Regions from separate parts of the Homo sapiens genome. Here region 1 is linked to region 2. Evidence: promoter capture Hi-C in human tissues and cell types (Jung and others, 2019). All regions are on one chromosome and are shown on one strand. Each heading gives the region's core, a stretch centred on a gene start or on the middle of the fragment in contact. The rest is flanking DNA. Distances are from core to core; before and after follow the strand shown.

What was found. The method cuts DNA at HindIII sites, captures the fragments that hold promoters and counts their contacts. A contact is called where the count stands out against the background at its distance.
Region 1: a fragment that was not itself captured here is called in contact with the fragment with the promoter of HCAR2 in region 2 in 10 of the 25 tissues and cell types used here (H1 embryonic stem cells, IMR-90 fibroblasts, adrenal gland and 7 more).

Annotation. Positions count from the first base shown.
Region 1 is chr12:122,660,693-122,664,979 of GRCh38, reverse strand. No RefSeq gene overlaps it. Among named protein-coding and RNA genes, the nearest start is that of MIR9902-1, 33 kb to the left of the region's middle. The HindIII fragment of the contact is 5,920 bases long and covers 1-4,287 here.
Region 2 is chr12:122,700,024-122,704,698 of GRCh38, reverse strand. HCAR2 (hydroxycarboxylic acid receptor 2) reads left to right here and starts at 1,342. Exons shown (of 1, transcript NM_177551.4): 1 at 1,342-3,406. The coding sequence starts at 1,416. The coding sequence ends at 2,507. The HindIII fragment of the contact is 9,565 bases long and covers 1-2,875 here.

The sequences.
Region 1 (4,287 bases), core at 392-2,891, 40 kb after region 2:
ACCACCATGCCCAGCTAATTTTTAATTATTTATAGTGTTGAAGTCTCATGTTGCCCACCCAGGCTGGTCTTGAACTCCTGGGCTCAAGCAATCCTCCCACTTTGACCTCCCAAAGTGCTGGGATTACAGGTATGAGCCACTGCACCCGGCCTTAGTCTGTATCTCAACACTGTAAAGATTGTTACCTTTAAAGCAAATACCTCAATAATTCAAGTCTTTAAAACAGTGAGGGGTCCAGCCACAGTGGCTCACATCTGTAATCCCAGCACTCTGGGAGACCGAGGTGGGCGGATCACTTGAGGCCAGGGGTTCGAGACCAATCTGAGTTTAGGAGTTTGAGACCAACTTGGCCAACATAGTGAAACCCCGTTGCTACTAAAAATACAAAAAATTAGCTGGGCACAGTGGCGTGTGCCTGTAATCCTAGCTACTTGCGGGCCTGAGGCACAAGAATTGCTTGAACCCGGGAGGTGGAGGTTGCAGTGAGTCGAGATTACGCCCCTCCACTCTAGCCTGAGTGACAGAGCAAGACTCTATCTCAAAAAAAATGAAAATAAAAAAAAAAGAGTTCGAGACCAGCCTGGCCAACACGTTGAAACCCTGTCTCTACTAAAAATACAAAAATTAAGGCCGGGCCCAGTGGCTCACGCCTGTAATGCCAGCACTTTGGGAAGCCAAGGTGGGCGGATCGCCTGAGGTCAGGAGTTCGAGACCAGCCTGGCCAACATGGTGAAACCCCATCTGTACTAAAAATCAAAAACTTAGCTGGGTATAGTGGCACATGCCTGTAGTCCCAGCTACTTGGGAGGCTGAGGCAGGAGAATCGCTTGAACCCAGGAGGCAGAGGTTGCAGTGAGCCAAGATCACGCCACTGCACTCCAGCCTGGGCGACAGAGCGAGACGCCGTCTCAAAAATAAATAAATGAATAAATAAATATAAATAAATAAATAAAAACGGTAAGGAAGGGATCTTGGCCCTTGAGGTAAATTGCCCCCTTGTCTCTCTCTAATCCAGGGTTTGGGGGAATGGTGTTCACTCACGGCCTGCAAAGCTTTGGGTTTAATTACTGTTTCTTGTCCAACATTTGTCTGATTTTGTGGGTTACTTGGGGCCCTCAGGGATGCAAGAAGCCAAGTGCACACTCAGGTGACCAAGGTGATGGAAGTTATAGAAGCAATCGTGGGCAAGCAAGAATGCTCTGGAAACTGTGGAGCCTCATGAAGAACTGGAACCGGTCTTTAATCAAGTCTCAGATACCATCTCTTAGAAGCTGTGTATCATTATTTCATAAACTATGAAGAAAGAAAAACAGGCCGGGCGCGGTGGCTCACGCCTGTAATCCCAGCACTTTGGGAGGCTGAGGGGGGTGGGTCACCTGTGGTCAGAAGTTTGAGACCAGCCTGGCTAACATGGTGAAACCCCATCTCTACTAAAAATACAAAAATTAGGCGGGCATGGTGGCACGCGCCTGTAATCCCAGCTACTCAGGAAGCTGAGACAGGAGAATTGCTTGAACCCGGGAGGCAGAAGTTGCAGTGAGTCAGGACTGTGCCATTGCACTCCAGCCTGGGTGACAGAGGGAGACAAAGGAAGGAAGGAAGGAAGGAAGGAAGGAAGGAGGGAGGGAGGGAGGGAGGGAGGGAAGGAAGGAGGGAAGGAAGGAGGGAAGGAAGGAAGGAAAGAAGGAAGGAAGGAAGGGAGGAAGGAAGGAGGGAAGGAAGGAGGGAGGGAGGGAGGGAGGGAAGGAAGGAGGGAAGGAAGGAAGGAAAGAAGGAAGGAAGGAAGGGAGGGAGTCCATCAGAAAGAAAGAAAGAGAAAGAATGAGAAAGGAAGAAAAAGAAGAAAGAAAGAAAATGCACACAATTTAACTATAATATACTTCTTTCTTATTGCTTCAAAATTTCATTTGACTCTTTTAGTCTCCAGTGTTTCTTTATTTCCTATATCAGTCTTGTGTATATATGAAAAGAAAGATATTATGGGAAATAGCATGGGGGTTCCTCAAAAAATTATAAATAGTACTACCATATGATCTAGAAAGCTCACTACTGAATGCATATCTGAAGGAAATGAAATCAGTATGTTGAAGAGATACCTGCACACCCATGTCTATTGCAGCATTCTTCATGACATTATCCACAGTCAAGATATAGGAGCTGGCCGGGCGCCGTGGCTCACGTTTGGGAGGCCGAGGTGAGAGGATTGCTTGAGGTCAGGAGTTCAAGACCAGCCTGGTCAACATAGCAAAAACCTCATCTTTACTAAAAATACAAAAATTAGTCAGGCATGGTGGCGGGTACCTGTAATCCCAGCTACTTGGGAGGCTGAGGCAGGAGAATTACTTGAACCCGGGAGGTGGAGGTTGCAGTGAGCCAAAATTGTGACACTGCACTCCAGCCTGGGTGACAGAGAGAGATGCTGTCTCCAAAAAAAAAAAAAAAAAAAAAAAGATATGGAATCAGCCTAGGTGTCAATCAGTGGATAAATGAAGAAAATGTGGTGTATACACAATGAAGTACTATTCAGCGTTTAAAAAGAAGGAAATCCTGTCATTTGCCACAACTTGAATGAACCTGGGTGACTTTATGTTAAGTGAAGTAAGCCAGACGCAGAAAGACAAATACTGCATGATCTCCCTTATATATGAATCTAAAAAAGTTGAACTCATAGAAGCAGAGGGTGGAATGGTGGTTACCGGGAGCTGGAGGTGGGTGGCTGGGTTGGGGAGAGGTTGATCAAAGGGTACAAATGTTCTGTTAGACAGGAGAAATAAATTCAAGAGATCCATTGTACAACATGGTGACTATAGTCAACAATGGCTGGGCACAGAGGCTTTGGAAAGCCAAGGCAGGAGAATCGTTTGAGGCCAGGAGTTCAAGATCAGACTGGGCAACATAGTAAGACCCCATTTCTATAATAAATGAATAAATAGTGTCAACAACAATGGATTGTGTCCTTGAAAATTGTTAAGAGTAGATTTTAGGTGTTCTCGCTACAAAAAAAGTCATGAGAGATAATGCATATGTTAATTAGCTCATTTTAGCCATTCCATAATGTATACATATTTCAAAACACCATGCTGTACACCATAAATATATACAATTTCTATCTCTCAATTAAAAAAATTTTTGTAAGTAAAAAGGCACCTGCAATCTCAGCTACTCAGGAAACCGAGGCAGGAAGATCGCTGAACCCAGGAGTTCGAGACCCTGTCTGTAAATAAGTAAATAAAGTAAAGAGGATGATGTAAGGGAAACCGGTGATTTACTCCTGCAACACCTCCACATTTTCAATCTGGCTTTCTGGTCTCTTTCCAGTGCACGCACTTTGAGGTTTGTGTTTTTCGCCTGCTGTTGTCCTCAGCTCCTGTCCTCTGGACAGGGGGTTCAGAGTCTCTACAAAATCTAATGGCCCTTGGCACAATTCCTATGCCGGCTCACCCATCATGCAGGAGAGCCTCCTCTGACTCCTCCTGTGAGAATGTTGCCAAACGCATCTGACCCTCGGATTCTTAGGAGTGAAAAGGGTCCCGCGGTGTTCCCAAAGCCACCAGCGCCTGCTCTGCCCGTGGGGATCACAACGCTCTAGGAGTTCACCTACCTGCGGGCAGTCCCAGCAACCTCAGGGCTGCCGCCCGACCAAAAGCAGCAAATAAGACATCGTCTGTTGTTAGACACATTCCAAAATGCCAAAATGCGGGGCGGGGGGCGGGGAAAGGTGCATCTTCAGATTGATGAAATGTGGTTGCTGGGCAACCACAGGCATTGGCACCATCCTCGTGGCACTGCTTCGTTGACTGTGCCTCTGACTTCTGACTTGGTTTCCTGCTCACCTCCTGGCTTTTCCTTACCCACAGTATCTACCACCTGTCCTCTTTCTGGCCTCTGCACAACTCCAGTGGCAGTGTCAATTTCTTATATGTTTCAAGTTCAGACTTCCATGAAGAGAAGACCCCACTGGATTGTTGCCACCGTCCAGCAATGCCCGTTCCCTGTGGGTGGGGGATAGGAGTCCAGTAGTCACTAGCCAACTGTAGGGAGTTGAAGGGTGGCTCCCCCAAAAGACATGTCCATATCCTAACCCCAGGAAGCTTACTTGTGAATGTGATTTCACTGGGAAAAAAGGGTCTTTGCCCATGATTACATTTCAGATCTCAAGATGAGGTCATCCTGGATTATCTGGATGGGCCCCAAATCCAATGACAAGTGTCTTTATAAGATACACAGAGGTCTCCAGGCATGGTGGCTCATGCCTGTAATCCCAGCATTTTGAGAAGCCAAGGCAGG
Region 2 (4,675 bases), core at 93-2,592:
GTGGCTCACGCCTGTAATCCCAGCACTTTGGGAGGCCGAGGCAGACGGATCACAAGGTCAGGAGTTTGAGACCAGCCTGGCCAACACAGTGAAACCTCGTCTTTACTAAAAATACAAAAAATTAGCTGGGCGTGGTGGCGCACGCCTGTAGTCCCAGATACTCAGGAGGCTGAGGCAGAAGAATTGCTTGAACCTGGGAGGCGGAGGTTGCAGTGAGCTGAGATTGTTCCACCGTTCTCCAGCCTGGGTGACAGAGTGAGACTCTGTCTCAAAAAAAAAAAATCACATCCTAAGGTCCCAAGGACATAAAACAAGTTAGAGACCTCATCCAGTTTTTTGTTTGTTTCAGGGACCTGCAACCAACTTTCTTACTGACCAGTTTCCTGGGCTGTCTAGAACAGACAGCTTATGGGGTACTAACCCCATGCTCTATCCTAAGGTACCCCTCTTCATGCAGAGCGACACAGAAAAACAAATTTGTAGCACAAAGTACACCCGATTTGCTACAGCTTACGACTAGCCTCATGAATCCTTTTTCTCATTAATTCAAAGTTTGCAAAAAAAAGAAATCACATACTTAAAAATAAATCACTTGAGCACAGAAGCATATCAAAATCTAATATAAACAAACAAAAAACCCAACTTATGTTAACATGCCACTGAAACTGGGCTCAAGTTTTCAAATGTCTTATGAAATATTACACTCTCCAGCAGGCTATTTTTTTTTTCCTAACTGGAGATGAATGGCAGAGTTCTGATATGGAAAAGCACTCCATGTTTGTACAGAAAGGTAGCATAGGAAAAGTGGTCAAATTCAACCAGTCTGTCCTCATCAAACAGGCAACTACTGTCTTCTCAGCATTTCCAAAAGAAATCATATGTCTGCTACTGTTTATGTCATATGCCTGTTAATTTTTCATGCTAATTCTTAGTGTTTCTGGAAAACCTCACTGTTTGGCACCAAAAATTGTTATTGCTATTGTTGTTGTTTTGTTAATTATGTCAGCCAAGCAGATGACGGTGAATTAATTCTGCAACGTTGAGTACTCAGTTGGCATACAAGCACCCAGCCTTCCAAAGGGATGTCCTTCATGTTTCACTGATTTTCGAATGACAGTCGGCTTGCCTAAACTTATCCTTTACATTTAAGACATTTTGTGGGTTCCCGTCTGCCCAGGGGATTCTTATTACTTGTTTATGCAAACAGCAGGTTGCATAAGAGCCTTGCTGGCTTTTTTTTTTTTTTTTTTTTTTAGAGATTTCGTAGTTTCCTGGTAACCATTCAGTCATCTATTTCAACACCCTGACATGACATAAAGGCAGGCGTGGAACCACACGTTCACCACACAGACACACACCTCCTTGCTGGAGCATTCACTAGGCGAGGCGCTCCATCGGACTCACTAGCCGCACTCATGAATCGGCACCATCTGCAGGATCACTTTCTGGAAATAGACAAGAAGAACTGCTGTGTGTTCCGAGATGACTTCATTGTCAAGGTGTTGCCGCCGGTGTTGGGGCTGGAGTTTATCTTCGGGCTTCTGGGCAATGGCCTTGCCCTGTGGATTTTCTGTTTCCACCTCAAGTCCTGGAAATCCAGCCGGATTTTCCTGTTCAACCTGGCAGTGGCTGACTTTCTACTGATCATCTGCCTGCCCTTCCTGATGGACAACTATGTGAGGCGTTGGGACTGGAAGTTTGGGGACATCCCTTGCCGGCTGATGCTCTTCATGTTGGCTATGAACCGCCAGGGCAGCATCATCTTCCTCACGGTGGTGGCGGTAGACAGGTATTTCCGGGTGGTCCATCCCCACCACGCCCTGAACAAGATCTCCAATCGGACAGCAGCCATCATCTCTTGCCTTCTGTGGGGCATCACTATTGGCCTGACAGTCCACCTCCTGAAGAAGAAGATGCCGATCCAGAATGGCGGTGCAAATTTGTGCAGCAGCTTCAGCATCTGCCATACCTTCCAGTGGCACGAAGCCATGTTCCTCCTGGAGTTCTTCCTGCCCCTGGGCATCATCCTGTTCTGCTCAGCCAGAATTATCTGGAGCCTGCGGCAGAGACAAATGGACCGGCATGCCAAGATCAAGAGAGCCATCACCTTCATCATGGTGGTGGCCATCGTCTTTGTCATCTGCTTCCTTCCCAGCGTGGTTGTGCGGATCCGCATCTTCTGGCTCCTGCACACTTCGGGCACGCAGAATTGTGAAGTGTACCGCTCGGTGGACCTGGCGTTCTTTATCACTCTCAGCTTCACCTACATGAACAGCATGCTGGACCCCGTGGTGTACTACTTCTCCAGCCCATCCTTTCCCAACTTCTTCTCCACTTTGATCAACCGCTGCCTCCAGAGGAAGATGACAGGTGAGCCAGATAATAACCGCAGCACGAGCGTCGAGCTCACAGGGGACCCCAACAAAACCAGAGGCGCTCCAGAGGCGTTAATGGCCAACTCCGGTGAGCCATGGAGCCCCTCTTATCTGGGCCCAACCTCTCCTTAAATAACCATGCCAAGAAGGGACATTGTCACCAAGAACCAGGATCTCTGGAGAAACAGTTGGGCTGTTGCATCGAGTAATGTCACTGGACTCGGCCTAAGGTTTCCTGGAACTTCCAGATTCAGAGAATGCGATTTAGGGAAACGGTGGCAGATGAGTGGGAGACTGGTTGCAAGGTGTGACCGCAGGAATCCTGGAGGAATAGAGAGTAAAGCTTCTAGGCATCTGAAACTTTTGCTTCATCTCTGACGCTCGCAGGACTGAAGATGGGCAAATTGTAGGCATTTCTGCTGAGCAGAGTTGGAGCCAGAGATCTACTTGTGACTTGTTGGCCTTCTTCCCACATCTGCCTCAGACTGGAGGGGGCTCAGCTCCTGGGGTGATATCTAGCCTGCTTGTGAGCTCTAGCAGGGATAAGGAGAGCTGAGATTGGAGGGAATTGTGTTGCTCCTGGAGGGAGCCCAGGCATCATTAAACAAGCCAGTAGGTCACCTGGCTTCCGTGGACCAATTCATCTTTCAGACAAGCTTTAGCAGAAATGGACTCAGGGAAGAGACTCACACGCTTTGGTTAATATCTGTGTTTCCGGTGGGTGTAATAGGGGATTAGCCCCAGAAGGGACTGAGCTAAACAGTGTTATTATGGGAAAGGAAATGGCATTGCTGCTTTCAACCAGCGACTAATGCAATCCATTCCTCTCTTGTTTATAGTAATCTAAGGGTTGGGCAGTTAAAACGGCTTCAGGATAGAAAGCTGTTTCCCACCTCTGTTTGCTTTTAACATTAAAAGGGAAATGTGCCTCTGCCCCACAGTTAGAGGGGTGCACGTTCCTCCTGGTTCCTTCGCTTGTGTTTCTGTACTTACCAAAAATCTACCATTTCAATAAATTTTGATAGGAGACAGTCTGGCGTTGCTATATCTGGGTTATGGTTCACAGAAATGGACTTCTTACTTAAGCAGAGACCTTTATGGGTTGTTAACTCTGTCCTGGTAGAAAACTACTCCACACTGCAAAGTAAGAAAGAGACACAGACACTGAGCTACATCATGAAACAACTAAGCAGAAATTACACCTGTGTCTAAACAAAGATAGAAAGAGCTGGGATTAAAAATAATTTGGAAGGATAGTACAGATAGGATCGCAAGAGCACTTACATTTTATTAGAGTTTGGTGAATATTGCTCTTAGTATTTGTGCATTAAACAGGGAATCAAGGCCAGGTGCAATGGTTCATGCCTGTAATCCCAGCACTTTGAGGGGACCGAGGTGGGCAGATCACCCTGAGGTCAGGAGTTTGAGACCAGCCTGGACAACATGGCGAAACCCCACTTCTACTAAAAATACAAGAAAAATTAGCCAGGCATGGTGGCGGCCGCTTGTAGTCCCAGCTACTGGGAAGGCTGGGGGAAGAAGAATTGCTTGAACCCAGGAGGCGGAGGTTGCAGTGAGCCGAGGTGGTGTGCCTGCACTCCAGCCTGGGGGACAGAGCAAGACTTCATCTCAAATAATAATAATAAATAATATAAAAAGGGAATCAAGCCAGGCAGATATTTTTCCATAGGAGGGGGAAGAGCGAGCTTCCTATGGAATGGTTTCAGTTCCCAATTCAGAGAAGGAAAGGAGATGTACTGGTTTGAGTCTGTGATCAGTCCAAGTTTCTGTTACGCTTTCATTTCTAACTCTGTCAGTCCTTGATTATTTGGCAAGACGAGGCTTGCTTCAACCTCCTGACATGAACACAGATAAGGAATTTAGAGACAGGCTCCCAGCTCTGGGTGAATGACAGTAAATGAAGAAAGGTGGATGCTCTGGAATTACCTCTGTGCTTTCAGAGCAGTTGGCTTGTCTGTATCACCAAGCAATGTACAGGTAAAAAGCCAAAAGCAAGGATCACCTTAAAGAGGAAGAGATGTCAGGGATGAGCTCAGAGGAAAATAGGGATTCCCCAGCCTCGGAGGCATGAGTCAGTGGGGAGCCTCGTTGTGAAACGCGGATTCGTTCAAGGGATGAGGTGGTTTGGGGTGTTTGGACCTCCACAGCTCACATTCATTCACTGATTCAGGCATTCCATCAGTTCTTTGTTTTTTTTTTTTTTTTGAGACCGAGTCTCACTCTGTCATCTAGGCTGGAGTGCAGTGGTGTGATCTGGGTTCACTGCAGCCTCTGCCTCC